2 separate regions of the Homo sapiens genome follow, and region 2 is linked to region 1. The links are contacts of gene promoters, found by promoter capture Hi-C in blood cells and fetal thymus (Javierre and others, 2016). All regions are on one chromosome and are shown on one strand. Each heading gives the region's core, a stretch centred on a gene start or on the middle of the fragment in contact. The rest is flanking DNA. Distances are from core to core; before and after follow the strand shown. Region 1 holds the start of TFAM (transcription factor A, mitochondrial). Region 2 overlaps PRKG1 (protein kinase cGMP-dependent 1).

Evidence for each region. Contacts are between HindIII fragments. The CHiCAGO score rates a contact against its expected background, and 5 or more counts as called.
Region 2: a fragment that was not itself captured here is called in contact with the fragment with the promoter of TFAM in region 1 in 1 of 17 cell types (fetal thymus); the score reaches 6.6 in fetal thymus.

Annotation. Positions count from the first base shown.
Region 1 is chr10:58,384,160-58,389,500 of GRCh38, forward strand. TFAM (transcription factor A, mitochondrial) reads left to right here and starts at 1,251. Exons shown (of 7, transcript NM_003201.3): 1 at 1,251-1,489; 2 at 2,061-2,179; 3 at 4,031-4,101; 4 at 4,511-4,660. The coding sequence starts at 1,389. RefSeq lists enhancers at 702-801, 995-1,651 and a silencer at 932-1,311. The HindIII fragment of the contact is 8,486 bases long and covers 1-5,341 here.
Region 2 is chr10:51,705,933-51,711,847 of GRCh38, forward strand. All of the region lies in intron 3 of PRKG1 (protein kinase cGMP-dependent 1), which reads left to right. Among named protein-coding and RNA genes, the nearest start is that of CSTF2T, 9.3 kb to the left of the region's middle. RefSeq lists an enhancer at 3,344-3,844. The HindIII fragment of the contact is 5,928 bases long and covers 1-4,585 here.

The sequences.
Region 1 (5,341 bases), core at 1-2,500:
TTCCATGCCAGAATGGGAGGTTTGAACAGATGACTTGGAAGGTCCCTTTCAACCCTGGGAGTCTATAAAAGGGAAGTGGTTATTACCGCTTAAAAGAAGAAGTAGGCTTAGTCCTACTTCCAGAGAGCCAATGTTTTCATAGTTACAGAAAGGTAAATAGACTGTCAGCTCAATATGACACTGGTAAGAATTTTCTAACAATTACGGCTATCCAACAGAAGAAAGGCTGTCTCAGAAGGTGGTTAGCTCTGAAACAACTGGTATTTAAGGGCTGGAAGGACCCTTAGGTATCTTTAGGTCTTCCTAATCTTTTTCATGCCATTGCCTATACAGAAAATGGTATTTCTATAACACAAATAAAAAAATTATACAGCAATTTTTGACACATCAATGTCTCAAGGCATACTTGTCACACGTTCTCAGGGCTTTGGCTGGGAAAACTGATTTAGTCTAACATCCTCGTTTGCAGAGGGGGAAACTGAATCTTAACGAGGGAATGCAATATTCCCAAGTCAAGACGTTAATGTTAATACTGGAACTAGAAGAATTGAGACTAGCGACTGTGGACAACTAGCCAGTTTCCTCTGCTCAAATTAAGCAAGCTGGAGGCCAGACTGAAAGACTGCAGTAGATGGTAGAATAAACAGTCTAAAGCTATATTGCTTTAAATGTGGTCTCAAGACCACCGACATTAGAACTTGTTAAATTCTGGGGAACTCGCTAAAATGAAGATTAATGGGCCCCACATAGACACACGGAATTAAGCTCTGCGGTAAGGCCTTGGAATCTGCATTTTTAGGTTTGCGAATCCCCGCCTCTCCCGTTACTATTTCTGAACTCCGAGCTCCAGCCCTGGCTTGAACTGAGACGCTCCGCTGGGCGCGCAGCAGCCGCCGATCGGACCTCGGGGTCCTGGATGCAGGACTGTCTGTTACGTACAGCCCTTGTGACCGTCACGGGCGGACACCGGCCAACGCCGGGTTGGGGTGAGGCCGCCGCCGCGGTCCCTCCATCACCCTCCTGGCCCGGCAGAGGAACCCACTGCTCCGGGCGGCCGGGGACAGAGGTGGCTCAACAGCGCCGCCTCGAAGCCAGAGCCCTCCGCAGGCTAGAGGATTGCGGTTTCCCTTCATCTCCGCGGCTCTTATTCCTCCCCCGCAAGGCCGCCCACCGGGGTACGCTCTCCCGCGCCTGCGCCAATTCCGCCCCGCCCCGCCCCCATCTACCGACCGGATGTTAGCAGATTTCCCATAGTGCCTCGCTAGTGGCGGGCATGATAACACACGCCGGAGGGTCGCACGCGGGTTCCAGTTGTGATTGCTGGAGTTGTGTATTGCCAGGAGGCTCTCCGAGATTGGGGTCGGGTCACTGCCTCATCCACCGGAGCGATGGCGTTTCTCCGAAGCATGTGGGGCGTGCTGAGTGCCCTGGGAAGGTCTGGAGCAGAGCTGTGCACCGGCTGTGGAAGTCGACTGCGCTCCCCCTTCAGGTAGGCCCGCTTGCCTGTGCCCTAGGGGCAGCAGGGCCCAGGACGTCCCGGGGTTGGAATGTAGACCCTATCCTTCACTTTCTGCCCCTCCTAGGAGTTCAGAGTCACCCTGGTTCTTTGATTCAGACCGCGACCTTGCCAAGGGGACGGTGGCCTTGAGACCAGGCCTTTATTTACTCTCTTAATACGCCGTACCTTCTTGCTACCCTCCACTCGCTTCTCCCATCCCTCCTCACTGTCCAGCTTTGGATCCTTTCCGCCTCCTCTGCGAATTCGCGCCGAGTCTCCGGCCATCATCTAGGCATTGAGGAGGCGGGGCCCAGGAGCTGGAGTATAGACGCTTTCCTTCACTCCCTGCCCTTCCTAGGAGGTAAGGGCTTTGAGACTTCAGTCCTGCAGACGCTCCCCTCCGTTTAGGACAGGGTTTTAATAAGTCTCTAGCATTCTTGTTGAAGGCGTTGGATACATAGTATCTTGATGACATTTCTTATTTGGGATCTGTGTTCATATACATGTGAATATTGACAGTTAAACATCTGACACTGGTTATTTTCTTTTTGTTTATATGTAGTTTTGTGTATTTACCGAGGTGGTTTTCATCTGTCTTGGCAAGTTGTCCAAAGAAACCTGTAAGTTCTTACCTTCGATTTTCTAAAGAACAACTACCCATATTTAAAGCTCAGAACCCAGGTAAGGAGTTTTGGGGCATATACCCTTTTCTCATGTAATAAAAATGCCATTAAGCAGTTAAATACCAATGTTGAATTGCAGTGCTAAAGCATTCAGTGACTGCAGGAACAATCATTTGATGTCTGTAAAATAGGAAGTTCTATTTTATACCAAATGGAAATGCTTTAAATATAAATGAGAACTAGTAAATGGTATTTTAAAAATAACGTATAGTGTAGAAAGCACCCTAGGAAGAGGATAAAAAAGCTGAATTTGGGGCCTTGTTGCCTTTGGTCTAGAGGACCACTGATGAATTATTTTCTCTTGCCTAGCTCCTCCTTTTTCTGGCTCAGGGAATTGTTAATAAAGTTGCAACTTCTGTGGAAGCATCCATAAACTGTAAGTTCTGTAGAACTGTAAAGTTCTATGCAATTTACTGCTAATTTCAAGAGCTTTCAAGATAAGAAAGGATAAACCTTTTCATCATAGGAGTTCAGAGCCACTCTGGTTCTTTGATTCAGACCTCGACCTTGCCAAGGGGATGGTGGGTTGTAAAGGATAAATCCTTTCTTGTCTTGGGTTCCTAAAAAAAAAACATTTCCAGGTAGGATGTTTGTTGACTCTCTAGAAAGCCTCTCGGCGAGAATAAAAAATGCTCACATCAGGCTGGGTGAGGTGGTTCACACCTGTAATCCCAGCACTTCGGGAGGTCGAGATGGGTGGATTGCTTGAGCCCAGGAGTTCGAGAACAGCCTGGGAAACATGGAAATCCTGTCTCTACCAAAAATACAAAAATGAGGTGGGCATGGGGGCGCAGTGCCTGTAGTCCCAGCTACTTGGGAGGCTGTGGTGAGAGGATCACTGGATCCCAGGAAGTTGAGGCTGCAGTGAGCCATGACTGCTCCACTGCACTCCAGCCTGGGTGACAGAGCGAGACCCTGTCTCAAAAAACAATAATAATTTTAAAAAAAAGCTCACATTATAGGTAAGGAGTTAGTTTCAGAGACATGCTTAAGTACCCACATCTTTTAAATGTAAGAGTTAGTACTAACAGGTATTTTTAAAAATCAATTAATTGCACGCCATCATTCCGGTTAAGATGAAGAAGGAAGTGGAGAATAACAGATTGAATTTCGAATAGCTTGTTTCCAAATGATATTTCTGTTATTGAAATACGAGGCTGTGTTATATGGATCGAGAATGTATTTTGTTGTTAGCTTTTATAAATTTAGGAATTCCTCAAAGACTTGAAAAAGTGTTTTGCTTGAAATATGGAAGGGAAGTAAAAAACTTGAAGCAATTGATCATCCAGCTTCTTAAACTAGTAATCAGCCTGGTGTGGTGGCTCGCGCCTGTAATCCCAGCACTTTGGGAGACTGAGGCAGATGGATTGCTTGAACTCAGGAGTTTGAGGCCAGCCTGGGCAGCATAGCGAAACCCCGTCTCTACAAAAAATACTAACATTAGCTGGACATGATGGCGCCTACCTGTAGTCCCAGCTACTCGGGAGGCTGAGGCAGGAGAATCACTTGAGCACAGGAGGTGGAGGTTGCATTAGGCCAAGATTGTACCACCGCACTGCAGCCTGGGTGATGGCCTGGGTGACGGACCCTGTCTCAAAAAAAAAAAAAAATCCTAGTAATCAAACTGTTGACTGTTTCTGGTGGTATATGGTATACTCCTTAGTTGTTAGATAATAGACTTTTGATAATGTTGGATAAATTACTTACGTTTAAATTAGTTGGATAAAGGAAAGTTAAATCATTATATTAAGTTATGTGTGGTATGGATTGTGCTTTCCTGGATATCTTTAGAAATTAATCCTGAGAGGTAAAATTGTGGCATCTTTTTTCTTTTTATTTCATTCCATAGATGCAAAAACTACAGAACTAATTAGAAGAATTGCCCAGCGTTGGAGGGAACTTCCTGATTCAAAGAAAAAAGTAAGCACATAAGTTTTCAACATTGCTGACCAGTTATTCTGCAGTTAGGAGCAATTGTCATGTCCTTTAAAGGACCAGATGGATCAGACTTTTTAAAAAATAATCTGTTATCTACAAAGAAACTTTATGTCTTCTCATCTGCATAAATAATGAGAATATGGATGTATGGGGTGGAGGTGAAGAAGTGGCAGTAGTTTGAAAATGGAAGCTGATTACTAAACTCTCACCTTGATTAGTATATATAAGGAAAATGTATGTTTTAATCCATATACATCTCATCCCAGAGCACATTTTCCACCTGGTGATAAAATCTGTCTGTCTGAAGTCATGCAGTTGCCTTTCCCTGGCATGTGCTATGTTGAATTTGCCAGCAATGGTTTGTTGACTTACTTGGGTTTTTTATTTATAGATATATCAAGATGCTTATAGGGCGGAGTGGCAGGTATATAAAGAAGAGATAAGCAGATTTAAAGAACAGCTAACTCCAAGTCAGATTATGTCTTTGGAAAAAGAAATCATGGACAAACATTTAAAAAGGAAAGCTATGACAAAAAAAAAAGTGAGTATCATTGAAATACTTTTTTCTTATGGTAAAGAATTGAGATTTATATAACTATGAATATAGGTAGTTTTCTCTTAATAGGCAAATAAAATATGGTAGAATGTCATCAAGTATTCTTCAGTTAGGCAGAAGTGGGATAGTTCTCTTATGAAAAGTGAGATAGCCACTAGGACCACTTGCCATTGAGTCTGTTTGGAAATCCTTGTTGCTACTTGCAGATGTATCCACATTTAAGGTGTACAGTTCGTAGAACAGTAATGGAAACTACAGGAACAGAGTTATGAAACAGTCAAACCAGGAGTATCAAGAATCTTTGCTTCTGAGTCTTCTTTAGAATAACGTATTAATTTGAATTATTCTATAGATTATGGTGAGTTTGATATGGAATATTGCTGAGTAGACTGCATTAATTCATTAACACATCGGAAAAATGCCAATTTATCTAATCAATTAAGTGCCTTTAGGATGGAATTCTTTTTTTTTCTTCAAAGAAATAACTATTAAAAACCTCACATGGTTCAAAATTTGTAGTTCCCAGCTTAATGTATTAATTCACATAAATGTCATCATTTGAAAGTTATACATTTTTTTCATAGAGCCAGTATTAGTTTTGAGGTGGTCAGTTTGCTAGTCGTGTACCTACACTATTACAAATGATCATCAGAGTTAAAACTATTT
Region 2 (5,915 bases), core at 372-2,871, 6.7 Mb before region 1:
TAGTACAGTAATCACAAGTTATTGACGCCTGGGCACCATCTCCCTTGGCATTTTTCCTGTTTGTCTCTGAGTGTAACTAATTGCAGTTGTGACATCACAATCAGTGCTGTGGTAACAGATGGACTGTGAGGTATAAAGACTGAAGCAATAGAGAAAATGTTTCCTTTTTCAATTTGCAGGACTATAGTTAAACTTCACCTAAAGACTTTTATAAAGCATCCAGTTAGTTAAAGCATGCATTTTTCCATAAAATGAAAGAGCTCAAATTAATTTGGTATATAACTTTTTTTCCCAAAATGCTTAGTGTATTTAATATGAAACAATGTACAGAGGAATAAAAAGCAAATTTCATGTACTCAAACTCCTAACCTCAAATGCTCCACCTGCGCTGGCCTTCCAAAGTGCTGGGAGTGAGCCACAATGCCTGGCCCTGAATTTCATTTACTTATACACAGGATGAATCACTGTTATTGGCAAGTGCAGATTACATGAATTTGGGGCTGCTGGGAGTCTGCCATTTCTGGACTTGAGGTTGAACAGAACCAAATGTTCTCCCTGGAAGGGATTGCGAAGTCCAGCCCAATTTTTTTTTTTTTAATAGATAAAGAAAAGAAAATGACGCCCAGGAAAGGAAAGAAATTAGACCAGGCTCAAATGTCCAGTTACTGATCTAGCTTGTAAAAGGATTTAGATATTCAGATTTTTCTCATCCAAACTATACTCTCAGCACTTAGAAAAGGCAGTAGAGTGAAGGAATTAAGAGCACAGAGATTTTAATGTCAGAATGACTTAGATTGGCTACCTAGTTCAACACGTAATTTTGTGGCATTGTACAAATTACTTCGCCTCTCTGTGGTTCCATTTCCACATCTTTTAAATGAGAGTAATGTCACCTGTATTGGATTATTGTGTGGAATACATGATATACTTATATTTTTATTATTCCTTACATTGTATGGTCATTATTAATCTACATTGGTTATCTAGTAATAGTAGATGAAGTAGCATCTTATGTGGAAAGAGACACAAGTTTTAGTCTGATGCTATTTATTTGGGGGCCTATATCTTTATTTTTATTATTGAAAGGCTTGTACTTGTACTAATGGTCTTGTCAGATTATATTATTTTCAAGTTGTACAACCTTAACACTGCCATTTTAGCCTTTGGTAGATTTGTAGTTGAAATGGATACTTTTTAGGCTTGATCCCATAGAATACTTCAATGAGAATTTTACCGATCATCTTGGTGCACATTAGGTTCTTGTACTAAACCATGAAATGCACTCTTCAAATATGTAGTCGGCTAGAATTCCACTTGTCCATTTTTATTAAAAGGGCCTGCCTGAACTTTGACTGTGGAGGATATAGGCTTATTTAACACCACATCGTTCTGCCACACAAGGTACCTACTCGAGCGCATAGTCCTGTTCAGGGTGATATTAGGACTACTACTTTTAAGTGTGCACTGGCAGACGTAGGCCATTTATTCAAACATAGAAAGGCATAGCTAATTAGACAAGAAGCAGAGCTCCCTTATTCGTGCTTCAGGCTGTCACCCGAAGGAACGCAGAAGTATCCTCATAAACTGTGGAAAAGTACAAGCCCTGTAACTAGGTCTGAATAAAGATACCCTATTTAAGTGGAACAACGCATGAATCTTTTTTTTTTTTCCTGTGACCGGAACAATACAACACCTCACTTCAGAGAAATGTGTAAACTGCCACTCACTTCAGAAATTTGGCTAGTATATCTCTTCTGAGGCTAGGTTGGTCTGAGAATGTGCCTATATTTGTACCAAGTTACAGGAAAGAGGCCTTTCTGAAAACATTTGATTCCAGGCTCAGACTGTTGAAAACAACAAATGTCAGTTTAACAGAATATATTTTAGATTCATTATCACAGTTGAATGATCCTTGAAAAACATTATGTCAAGAATTCCAGTTTAAATTTACCTTCTAACTCTGGATTCTTGAGTTAGAAATTAGAAAACCTAAAATCTAATGTTTATAGGAATGTAGTAGCTAGCATTTTATGGTACACGTACAGAAACCAATTCCAACCAAGGTAAGCAAAGGAAGTGGTGGTTATTTTCATGACATTTTGTTATCTCTCAGAACCCACAGAAATTAATCTGCTAGGCTGCTGTATTAGAATACCACAGACTTAAACAGAAATTTATTTTCTTACAGTCCTACATGCTGGAAGTTCAAAATCAAGGTGCAAGTAGGTTAGGTTTTTCCTGATCCTCTCTCCTTGGCTTGCAAATGGCTGCCTCCTCAGTGTCCTCGCGTCACCTGCTGTGTGCATGCACTCTGGTGTCTCTTCCTTTTCCTGTAGGAACACCCATTGTATTAGATGAGGGGTCCACACGTATGACCTCATTTAATTATAATTATCTCTTTAGAGGCTCTGTCTCTAAATACAGTCACATTGTGGGCTAGGGCTTCAACATATGAATTTTGAGGGACATAATTGACTCCGTAACAAGCAGTAATGCAGTAACCTCTAGGAAAAGAAAAAATGGGTAATTGTTGGCATTCAGAATACTCTATTCCCATCTCTTTCTCTCTCTCTCAAAATCTTTGTCTCCCACTCCCTTCCTCACTCCCTCTTCGCTGCATCTCTTTGTACATTTGTGGTGGTTTTCCTCTGTTGAAGGATCAGATCTCCTATTTCTCTCTCTAGTCCATTGTCATTCCAGTTTTCTGGAACTGGGAATCTGAAGGTCCAGCTTTATTCTGGTGTGTATCTGTGATTCAATTCAGCATTGTTAAGAGGTTGGAGCCAGAGTGATAGTGAGACCATTTACTAGTCTATGTCTGCTGGGGCCGGGTAGTCAGCTGGAGCAGGAGGAAGCCTACAGACCTTTGCGGTGCCAGTTGTTAACCTCCTTTACCTTCCAGGTCATGGAGAGGTCAGGAGACTGACTTGAGGGGCTTGAGGGAGCATCTATCATCCTGTACCACTGGTGTAGCCATACTGGTTACTGCTGAATGTCTATCCTGGTTGACCATGAATTCCAAAAATACTTTGGTGACCTACTCTTATGAAGGAAGGGAGCAGTTAAAAGGGCTGTTTTGAGCTAGACAGCCATTTCCAATGCACATTCTGCCAGAGAAAGTTTGTCCACAACCTTCCTCTAAATCATTCTCTCAATCTCTACAAAACATAAAACATTATTTCCAAAAATAGATCATTTTCTTAGAAATGTTTAAATGTGGACTTCCAGTTAGAAAAATGGTCTAATATAAAACAGTAGAGGAATGTTTAGCCACCAATTCACAGTTTTTAGAAAGTTCCCACCATATATAATGCGTGATCTTCTTGAAGGTGAATACACTGTACTTTTAAAATATCAAACTCTTCCATCCTTCATATAAAAATATTGACCATTTTTCTTGACAGTTTAATGACAAAATCATAGCAACAATTCTTTCAGTTATTATCATCTTTATCACTATCATCTGACATTTATGCTGAAATAGCTGTGTATACGTTCTTGCAGAGCAGTACAATGAGAAACTTTTCTCTCTGGCCTCCAGGTGTTTGTCAATTCCATCCTGGCTCTGGGGAACAAAACAAGTGCCTGCAGGAAAACAGGGAAGTGCAAATGACCTATTCCTCTAGAGCTCAGCCTTTTGTTAGCCTTGAAAATGGAATTGCCTGTGTTGGTCCATAGCCCTTGAGGGGTCTAGGAAAGAGAAGCTGATGCCTGCAGGGAGAATAAAGAAAGTGCCAACATTTTTCTGCCCATGTAGTGGTCTGGAGTTTGCTGCCAAGTGGTCTGGAGTTTGCTGCCAAGGTCCCAGGACTGGGTAATAGTTGCAGGTCTTCATTCTTATCAGCAGGACTTCCACAGGGAGGAGAGGTTCTGGGAAATCCTCCTGACAGCAGGTGTCTGCAAATGGGGAGGCAGAGATGAGGGAGGGAAGGAAAGTGTTTGCATCCCCACCAGGAAGGAAACTTACCTGACACATTTCGTAGCAGCAAGGGTTTGACAATGCTTTAGGATACTAAAGCTAGGATACTCATTATTCAACTAAATGTTGAATTTTATATATATCAGCATGTATTTTATAAATACTGAGTATATACTCTGTGGAAGGTAGGCACACAGTTGAACAATATGGGAGTTTAAATGTGAACGAAAATGTGACTTCTCTTTTCAGTAGTACTTTCACAGGAAACTTTATCATTAGCCTTTCTCTTGAACTTACACTGAGGATTTATGGTGCTCAGATTTGAGTCTCTGGCAGAACAGCTGTGCCTGCAAGGAGTTTCCCTTCTGTCAGACAAGATAGAGAATAGACGATTTGAGCAGACAGCTTCCAAATGCATTTTTTGATTTGTTTGATTTCCTGAGAGGTATATAGAAAATGAAAATGTAACTGCTGTTCATCCATTGACCCTCTTTCTGAGGTTCAAGATGAAAGATTTTTTTTTTCTTTATTACTGAGAAAAGCACTGTCCCCGAATTCTATCTACCTGTACATACTGAAGATAGGGATTATGATTTATAGTGGCATTCCACTCAAAGTCAGCATAACACTAACAGCTCCTCACACACCCCTTCATCTAGAAGCAGAAGCTTCAGGCAAGCCTGCTCTATGGATAGTACATTGTTGCCAGGCCATTGATTCATTGAGCAGCTAATGGTCCTTTCACGACCAGAGTTCTTAAACGTTAACCTTAAAGCGTAATTTCTTGAGAACAAATTTAAGTACCACATAAGTAAACATAGAACCAAGTTTATTACTTAAATGACTACGATTAAATTTAAATATCATTGTGCTTTAAGCAAATGATGCTATCAGTTTCTTCTCAAAAGTGAAGCATGATAACTTGCTAACCGGGGACAGTAGAGTCAATGTGCCTGTTGATGCCATGATATATCGTCCTGTTTTGGGGGGGGCGGGAAATATTTTTATTTAATTTTCCTTTTTGTTAATAGAGATGGGGGTCTCCCTATGTTAGCCAGGGTCTCGAACTCGTGGCCTCAAGCAAGCCTCCCATCTCGGCCTCCCGAAGGTGCTGTGATTACAGGTATGAGCCACTGCGCCCAGCCAGTGGGGTTTTCTTTTTTAAAGACGTGAAAGACTTACAATTCCCCTTTTGGGCTGGTCAGTGACTAGCTGTGTTAATTATGTTATTTGAGAACTTTGCTTCCTAAGCTGACCTTTTTAATTTTTTTTGAGATGGAGTCTCGCTCTGTCACCCAGGCTGGAGTGCAGTGGTGCAATCTTGGCTCACTGCAAGCTCTGCCTCCCGGGTTCATGCCATTCTCCTGTCTCAGCCTCCTGAATAGCTAGGACTACAGGCGCCCGCCACCACGCCTGGCTAATTTTTTGTATTTTTAATAGAGACAGGGTTCATCGTGTTAGCCAGGATGGTCTCGATCTCATGACCTCGTGATCGACCCGCCTCGGGCTCCCAAAGTGCTAGGATTACAGGCGTGAGCCACTGCGCCTGGCCTGACCTTTCTTTTTCATATACAGTCTCCTAATTTTTTCTCTTTCTCCTGTTTCTATAATTGTTGCCCACTATGTCCATTACTTTCTGACCTCCTTCTTTTACTGAAAATATAAGTGTGTATGCTTCCTGTTGTCTAGGTAGAGGAGAGTTATATTCTTCTAGAAAGAATTGCACCATACGAAACTGAAGTTGTCTTGCCTTTAGTTCCCTCCTCATGGCTCCAAGGCAATTCTGATTGTTTATCTCAAAGCTGTAGCATTTTTTGTCTACTTCCTTTGGAAGACACCAGCACTTTTCCTGTGTGTAGGAGGAAGCTGTCAGTGATTGTGGGTGGTTGGGTGAGAAACCAGATAAGATGGATTGTTGGAAAAGTTAAATTGGTGGAGAGTGTTTGAGCTGTGGGTGAACTTAGAAGAAAACACTTTAATAGATAGATCCAGAATG